Regions from separate parts of the Homo sapiens genome. Here regions 1 and 3 are each linked to region 2. Evidence: promoter capture Hi-C in 16 types of primary human blood cells and fetal thymus (Javierre and others, 2016). All regions are on one chromosome and are shown on one strand. Each heading gives the region's core, a stretch centred on a gene start or on the middle of the fragment in contact. The rest is flanking DNA. Distances are from core to core; before and after follow the strand shown. Region 1 holds the start of LRRC1 (leucine rich repeat containing 1). Region 2 holds the start of CENPQ (centromere protein Q). Region 3 holds the start of TRAM2 (translocation associated membrane protein 2).

What was found. The method cuts DNA at HindIII sites, captures the fragments that hold promoters and counts their contacts. A CHiCAGO score of 5 or more calls a contact.
Region 1: a contact is called between the fragment with the promoter of LRRC1 here and the fragment with the promoter of CENPQ in region 2, in 1 of 17 cell types (total B cells). The highest score is 6.5, in total B cells.
Region 3: a contact is called between the fragment with the promoter of TRAM2 here and the fragment with the promoter of CENPQ in region 2, in 2 of 17 cell types (total B cells and non-activated CD4 T cells). The highest score is 13.0, in total B cells.

The regions. Positions count from the first base shown.
Region 1 is chr6:53,793,613-53,796,312 of GRCh38, reverse strand. LRRC1 (leucine rich repeat containing 1) reads right to left here and starts at 1,308. Exons shown (of 14, transcript NM_018214.5): 1 at 898-1,308. The coding sequence starts at 1,056. It overlaps LOC124901333 (a long non-coding RNA gene), which reads left to right and starts at 2,638. Exons shown (of 5, transcript XR_007059619.1): 1 at 2,638-2,700. RefSeq lists an enhancer at 524-1,236 and silencers at 1,203-1,442, 2,488-2,617. The HindIII fragment of the contact is 4,441 bases long and covers 1-2,700 here.
Region 2 is chr6:49,461,953-49,464,652 of GRCh38, reverse strand. It overlaps CENPQ (centromere protein Q), which reads right to left and starts at 1,283. Exons shown (of 9, transcript NM_018132.4): 1 at 1,200-1,283. It overlaps MMUT (methylmalonyl-CoA mutase), which reads left to right and starts at 1,400. Exons shown (of 13, transcript NM_000255.4): 1 at 1,400-1,550. RefSeq lists enhancers at 417-1,316, 1,661-1,730, 1,317-2,217. The HindIII fragment of the contact is 2,856 bases long and covers 1-2,072 here.
Region 3 is chr6:52,575,610-52,578,309 of GRCh38, reverse strand. TRAM2 (translocation associated membrane protein 2) reads left to right here and starts at 1,250. Exons shown (of 11, transcript NM_012288.4): 1 at 1,250-1,514. The coding sequence starts at 1,395. TRAM2-AS1 (TRAM2 antisense RNA 1) reads right to left here and starts at 1,108. Exons shown (of 3, transcript NR_103446.1): 1 at 1-1,108. RefSeq lists a silencer at 678-1,537. The HindIII fragment of the contact is 3,868 bases long and covers 1-2,446 here.

The sequences.
Region 1 (2,700 bases), core at 59-2,558, 4.3 Mb before region 2:
GTTCGCTGTACCCCTACTCTCGGTCAAAGCACCATCAGCACATGTCGCTTGACAAGTTCGGCGGCAATGGAGTGATCAATTTACATAAACAACTCTGAAGAGATAACGCATCACTGCAAGGAGAGAAAGTCAGCAGGACGACTGTGCCCGCTCCGGGAAAGGCGGCTGCAAGGCTGGCCCGCGGGCAGAGCCTCCGCTGACGTTCACCGCAGCTCCCACCACGCAACAGGTCCACGTAGGCAAGGCCCGGGCGGCCGGCATCTGGGCACCTGCCCCTAGCGCTCCAGGCCCAGCTCTCCCCTGCGCCCATCTCGCGTCCACCCCCGCAGCCACCGCAGGCCAGCCGGCCAAGCCCACCCGCGATAAAGCACGGAGCACATTCCTCATTCCTCCCAAGATGCCGAGATAGTGCGGCCCGCTTGAGCGCTGCCCAGGTCACAAGGTCCTCCGGGACATGCCTTGACTAAAGGAGAGGCGCGCCCGGCCCTTGGTGGGGGAACGACCCCGGGGAGTGGAGGGGGGGAGGATGCAGTGCTCTGTAGCTTCCAGATGGAAACAGCCCGAATCACCCGGCTTCTCACCTGACCGGGCACAAGTGCCAGGTGTCAGTACCTAGCATGGATCTAAGTTACTTAACAGTCCAGAACGCTTCTCCAATAGCACGAGCCCCAGTGACTACGCGCAAAATATCCGGTCACTTTGAATAAAATGAAAAGGAACTTTTACTGGGAAAGGATGGAAGTAAAGAGACAGGGGGAGAAAGAAGCAGGTGAATGCATAAAAGAGGGAAGGTTCCTTCACGCCGGACCCGGAGATGGAAGAGGGGACGAGAGAGGATGGGAGCGGAAGGGACAGCAGACGAGCGGGCAGAGCGCTCAGGTGAGGCCGGACCCTTACCTCGGGCAGCTCGCGGAGCTGGTTGGCGTCCAGCAGCAGCTCCTCCAGGCTCCGGGCATAGCGGTAGATCTCCTCGGGGACGTAGACCAGCGAGCAGTGGCGCTTGTCGATGCTCTCCACATGACGGTTGCACCGCCACAGGGGGATGCAGTGGAACATCGCCGCCCCCGCCGCCGCCTAGCCGGGTCCCGAGCGGCGGAGACCCGGGCTCCGAGCCCGCTCTGGCCGGCGGCTCCGCTCAGTCCGCTGCCCTCTCCGCGCTCGTTGTTGGCTCTTGGGTTAGCTCGCTTCTCGCGCCGGGCTTCGCGGTCGGAAGTGCTTCAAGGAACCTGGAGCGGGAGCCCCTGCCCCGTCCCTGTACCCCCGCCCGCCAGCCGGTGCCTCCACTCCCACCCGCCAGTCGCCGTCGCCGCCCCCGCCGCCGCGCGGAGCTTCCTACTCGCAGCCGCCGCGCGGACTGAGCATGCGCGCCAGTGGGTGCGCGCCGAGGGCGTTTCCCGGCCCGAGGGATGCTCCGCTCCGGGTTTTCCCGGCGACCTGCATCCAGAGAGGGTCGACTGACCTGCGGGCCGGCTGCTGGCGGTCTGCTTACTCCGGCAAAGACGGGGGCGCATCGGGCCGTTTGAGGAAGGCAGACTGTGAAAGGACTTGGGACAAAGATGAGGCGGAGTAGAGGCGGCCTGAGCAGAGCAGAACAACTTTGATATTTAGTTTTATTTAACTCGCACTCCTCTCCTTGCTCCCCTTCCCCAAAACAACTTTCTCTTCCGGGGTCACACAGGACCGCCCCAAAGCGTACCTTGCGCGCCGGGGGCGCCAGGCGCTACTGGATTCGGTGTAGTTTTGAGGTGTTTGCACCACCCTCGCTGCTGCTTTCGTGGCTGCCCGTGTGCCCGCTGCTCACGGCTGCCCCAGAAGTGTGAGCTGGCCGCGCCCGGCCCTCTGGTCCTCGGGCACCGCCTGCAGGCTTTGTAACTTGGGAGCACATCTCTGGTGATCATGGTTTATGCAGTGAGTGATAGTAAATCCTCCTCCCTGTACCAGCAAAGGCATAGGAGTCTGAGAGTCTGCGAGATTCTCATAGATGTGGTTGCACCTGGCAAGGAGCCCAGCTGCAGAAATAAGCAGGCAAACGCGAGTTTCTGAGCCAGTTCCAGCCCGGCCCAGATGTTGGCCCCTGACAACTAGCTGTGGCTGGTGCGGAGGGAGGAGCGAGGGAAGAGGGGCAGATCGAGGCTGCCAGGTGAGCATCCTCCATACAGCTCCTGCTTTTCTGCTACAACCCCAGTCCCGTCCAGCCCGGATGACCGGGGAGGCTCACTATTGGGTTATAACAACCATTCCCTCGCCCCGACTCATTCCTGCGGACCACGGCCGGAATCCTGAACTGCCCCTCTTTGCCTGTAACTGTTTGCAACACAGTCCCCATCTCCGAATAACCAAATTTTCTCCTTTAATGAAGGGTTGCTAAAGTCAAGGTCAATCACAATGATGAATCATTTCCTTGGGGGCTTCTCTGATTCCCCACCCGGCCGCCCCTTCGTTCCACACTTTCCCTTTCAAGCATACTCAAACTCCAGGTTTCCACCTGCGGCCGCTGCCACGCTGGCTCTCCCACACTCACTCCCGCCCTCCAGCTGCTATAGCTAAAATCTGGAGCCACGGAGTTCACTTTTCTATAGAAGACAAAGCTGAGCATGCTCAGTGGCCAAGGCAAAGTTTGGTCGGAAACTAGTTTTTGCATTAGACTCTCCATGGGCTCCATAGACTCTCCTGTACCTTACGACTAGGCACAGGAGCGTT
Region 2 (2,700 bases), core at 34-2,533:
AATATTCTTGAAATATCAACAAAGAATTCAGAATATCACAAAACCTTAGTTGCTAAAGCAATGGTAGGGGTTAAGAGGATTTACTCTAATTTTGAAAGAAGTTCTACAGTGGGTAAAATGCTTTCAAACAGCATCACATGCTACAGAGAAATCTTTAGTGAATGGAAGAGTCAACTGCTGTACAAAATTCATTATTTTGTTATTTTAAGAAACTGCCACAGCAACTCCAATCTTCAGCAACCATCACCCTGATTGGTCAACAGCCATCAACATCAAGCAAGACCCTCCACCAGCAAAAAGATTAGGACTTGCTGAAGGCTGAGATGATTAGTAGCATTTTTTAGCAATAAAATATTTTAAAATTACAGCATGTAATTTTTTTTTACACATAATGCTATTGCACACTTAATAGGTTACAATACAGTGTAAATACAACTGTTATATGCACTGGGAAACCAAAAAAATCGTGTGACAGGCTTTATTGGTCTGGAACCGACCCCGCAATATCTCGGAAGTATGTTTGTACATTATTCATAGAAAAAGTATTATTCTAATAACATTTTGAAATATTTAGCCAAAAAGTAGAAAAATGAAGCATCCAAGGGAAAACAGTAAAACTCGGACGGCAGGAAAGCTCGGAAAAAACACAAAAAACCTGGCGTGTTCAGGGACAGGATAATCCAGCGAGGCTTTTAATGTGTATAGGAGAAGTGAAAAGAAATAAGGCTGGTACAGTAGTTTGCCGCCAGACTATATGCTTTAGGAGAGAGGGAGGCATTCTAGGTTGTCTTGTTTTTCTTACCAGCTTGTTGATACTCATGGGACTCAATTACCTCAATTTAGACCTCTATGTGGGCACAAGAGTGAGTAGGACTCCTGGAGAAACACAGACACTAATGTCCAAGGCTGCACTTGACTTCACTAGTGCCCGCGGGAGAAATTTAGCAATGAGGATGAGCCATGAGGATGATTCGGGAGAAATAGGAAGTATTCATGGCTTTGCTCCCTCCCCCCTAATCAAACATCTCAATCTCAGGATCCTAAGGGCAGATCTTTTAGGACATCGGGCATTTCCCCGTAAGCAATCCCCCCTCGCTATCCTCAAATGCAAACTGCGGAGTCTGCCACAAACGCGTTGGCTTTAAAACTCATCCCTGAACTTTAGATCCACCCAGCCGGTTAAGGATATCACGACTCACCACTGATTCTTCTTGCACCCTTCTGAGAGCCGCGCTTAGAGTAATTCGCGCCCAAACATTCGTAAACAGAGGAGACCCGGAAGTGGGTGGGAAGAAAGCGGAAACGGGCATCTAACCCTACCCCTAAACGTCATCAGGAATGCGCCCATGAGAGCGCTATTAGATTGGCTGGAGGGAGGGCGGTGTCGGCCTACGCCCCCAGAGTCGTCCGGCTGACGCTGGCGGTGGCGCGGTTTGTGTGGGCTTGGTGAGGGCGGGGAGGCCTGGCTGTGTGGATGTCTGACAGGTGAGGCGGGGGACGCAGAAGTGCAGCCGCCCTCTCCCACAGCGGAGTCCAAAACAGGCCTACCAGTGAGTAGGACGTACACCTTTCAGATCGCTCCATTCTTCTGGCTCCTGTCCCTCCTCTACCCCTGTATTTTGAACTTTTGTCCTTTCTCTCCCGCTCTGTCCTTTACTTCTGTCTTCTTTACCTTCCTACTGTGACGGGATCCCACTCTCTGCCTTCTCCTTAGGTTTAGATTTTCACTTCGACCAACCTCTAGTTTTGGGCGAAGTCCCTGGCAATTCGGAGGTACTTCTGGAAAGAAGGTGCTTTTAATACTTTAGGGGCCATGTCGGTATCTTCTTTGGCCACTTAAGCACCCTGAACTGTTCCCGTTGGCAGAGGTCACTTTTTGTATGGTTCCAAAGGGATGCGCCTGCTTCATGGCTGCCTCCCTTCTAGGTTGTGGGTTATGTTATTGTCAGGGTTTTTCTAAGAGTTTTCGGGAATAAAAGTGATTTTCTGTGTGTAAACAGGATTAAGAGTGTAAACAGTGTTAAGAGTGAGAGGTAGAATAGAAAAGACAGGTCTAAATTGACATAAAAGCTTACATTACTAACTCGTTCTCAGTTTTATCTAGAAAGAAGGTGGTCTTAGGGAAGCTCGAAGCCCTGGATAACGTATGTGTGTAAAGTTTTAAACCACTTGATGATTTTCTGCCAATATAATTTTGTGTTTAATGATGTACTTATGCTAATATCAAATATAATTTTCATGCCCTATGTTTCCATCTCCAAACCCAACTAGTTGAACATCAAAGTACCTTCTTGAAGTATTAATGTGCAATCATACGTCAGCAGCCAAAGCTTGAAACTTATTGGTTCAAGAAATCTTTTTCTCACTGATTTGTTTTTGAGGTGTGGGGGTGGGATTAATCATTGCTCTTTAACTCATTTTAGTTGTCAGTAACATATTTGCTTTGCATGTTGCTTCTTTGAATGCTTGAGGCCTCTCTTGATGGTCTTCTGAGAAAATTCAGAGGTCGTATTGCCATCCGCAGTAGTTGTGTTTTTATCTAAAAATGGTGTCTGTTTCCAGCCTCCACCAATTCACATGTGATTTTCAGGAAGTCACTTAAACGGGGCTCTTTCCTATTAGTTGTTCAGATTTAGGAAAGCCCACGTGAAATGAGTGTGATATTTCCTGCCAACAGTTTAGTCTCAGGTGGTTTTCAAA
Region 3 (2,700 bases), core at 1-2,500, 3.1 Mb before region 2:
GTTCCTCACAAGACGAAGGTTCAACTTTGAGAAAGGTCAGCCTTGAAGTTAAATGAGGTTTAGTCCAATCTAGGCATTACTTTGTCATTTCCTTGAGAGTCAGATAAGGGAATTACAGACCCAAGACTGTATTTTAAGTAAGGTGGAGTGCAGATTGAGGAAGTAAAATTTCTCTAGGAACTCCATCCTGTCTCAATTACATTCCACCGCGTGCCACTTTTAAAAAACCATATTTATTTAGAAGTGAAATAACTGTGGACCTAATAAAAAATGGAATAGGAATTAGTTTTTTTTGTTCATTACGTATTTCTGCACATCTAGAAAGTAACTGACTGCTTCATTACTGGTAGGATTAAATCCAATATTTGCGAATATAATTTATTAAGAACACCTTTTGTCCTTCCAGGAGTACTTTTAAGACTTAATATTAAATAGAAACTTTCAGTGAGAAAGTTCCTTCCTTTTTTGCTTCTTCTGTGTTTATTCTTCCACTTCTTCTGATTAATATGTAAGGTAGACTTTCGGTGAAATGTGTGTAGCTAATTAATGGTGGCATGAGGGTCCCAAAAATTACTGGGCAAAACTGCAATCATCCACCCTCTCCCCGCATTGGAGCGAAAGCTCCCCTAGGGCAGGGTCTTTCGGTTTGTTGATCTACCTGAACTGTGCCTAGCCCACTGCAAGTTCTCGATAAATACTTGAGTAATCTCCATTCACTGATCGTCCGTGCAGGGCGCTGTGGCCAGCCAGAAGGCCGGTTCGCGGCTTCCCTGCTTCCGCCGCACCCGCGCCGCCCTCAGCCCCCGGGGCCACAGCCCGCAACCCCGGGAGCATCCGGCTGCCCGGCCACCCCCGGGGCGCTCGCTGCCTCCGGGGCCTGCCCTTCCCGCGGAGGAAGGAGCGGAGCGAGGAGTGGGAAAGCTGGGCCCACTTCCTGTCCGGGCAGGCCTGGGCGCCCGCCTCCTCCGCGGCCTGCTTTCTCCACCGCGAGCGGCTGAGCCTCGGGCCCCGAGAATGCGGCCGGGCGCGGCGCTGGCGCGGGACGAGGAGGAGCCGAGCCCCGCTCGCCGCCCCCGTACGCCTCCGCCCCGGTAGCCCGCGCGTGCCCAGCGGCTAGAGGGTTAAGCCCGCGGGGGGCGGGGCCAGGCGCGCCGAGTGCGGGCCGCGGGCTGGGCGGGGGCTGGGCGGGGGCTGCGGCCGGGGGCGGTTACGGGCGGCCGGGGGCGGGCGGAGGAAGGGGGCGGGCCCCGAAGTTGTTCCGCGCTGGGCGGGCGAGCGGCTGTGGGAGAGCGGGCGGCGGGCCGGCGGGCGGACCGGGCCGGTGCTGGAGAAGTTTGCGCTGCGGTTCGTGAGCGCAGGGTGCGGGCCCCGCCGGCCGCTGCGCGCCCGCTGCCATGGCTTTCCGCAGGAGGACGAAAAGTTACCCGCTCTTCAGCCAGGAGTTCGTCATCCACAACCATGCGGACATCGGCTTCTGCCTGGTGCTCTGCGTCCTCATCGGGCTTATGTTCGAGGTGAGAGCCTGGGGAGGAGGGAGCTGGAGGGACAGTGCCCCCTGTCGTGCACCGCCCGGCACACCCCTGCAGGTCAGCGGGCCCTCCTCTGATCGGAGGCTCCTGGCTGCCGTGTACGTTATCTGCACCCCGGCTTTGTGCACTGTACCCCTCCGGCCTGTACCCCGGCCAGCCCAGACAGCACCCCCAGCTCCGCGCCGTGCCAGCCATGCCATGCTCTGCCGCCCCCTTGGGCACTCATCGTATCCTGCAGCTCTGTCTGCAGCCCTGAAACCCCAGCCTGGCCTCGAACCAACCGCCGCGCTGCCACCATGGCTTGACGCGTGGGGTTCCCTTTCTGGCGTCCAGGAGCCAAGCCCAGAGACTCCCAGACCCGCAGTCATTGCACAACCCCCTCTTGCCCCAAGGGGTGGCCACTAGCTCTTCTGGGCTTTTCCAGTGGGAGAGACCCAGAACCTTTTCCACTTCCTATGTGATTTTCTGGGTGTTTTGCATCTCAGCTCTGGAACGTGCTCGGATGTTCACGTGTGGCCCTGGCCCCATCCCAGCAGTGGCCTTCTGCTCTCGTCTCGCTCCCACTTTTTTGCTGTGCTCTAGAAGGCCAATTTTTGGATATCCTTTACCACTCCGTGAACTGTCCCTTTAGATCCATCTGCGGCGACCCAGAGCTTCACCCCCTTTACAGAGACAAGAAGAGAGACAGGGATACCCTCCACTTTTTGGGGAAAGTTGATTCTCTTATAGTGTAGGAGTGGGGGGCAGAGGATGGGGATCCCACCCCCAACAGCAATGTCCTGGTGTCGGCCTCCCAGGCAGGGAGTTGTAGAAAGCCAGCAAGGGGTCAGAATTCACAAGACTGATGGGAAGGATTCCCTACTCTTGCAGAGCAAGAAAAATGTGATATTCAAAAGTGGGAAGAACTGGAGGAAGCTTGGCATGGGTTTGTTGCGGTATATCTTGTCTCAGAAGTGAGATATGTGAGCGACATTCCCCTCACTCTCACCGTGGTCTCCTCTGGTTCCTGAGACTCCTTGTCCTCCCTTCTGCGTCAGCTTGCTTATTGCATTCTCACGGTTGGGTTAGGAAGCTGTGATCATTTACAAACTTCCTTGGAGATGGAGGATGGCTTGCCTGGCTAAATTTCCTTCCCTGTCCCTCTGTCTCGGGTTCCCTGTATCTCTACGAA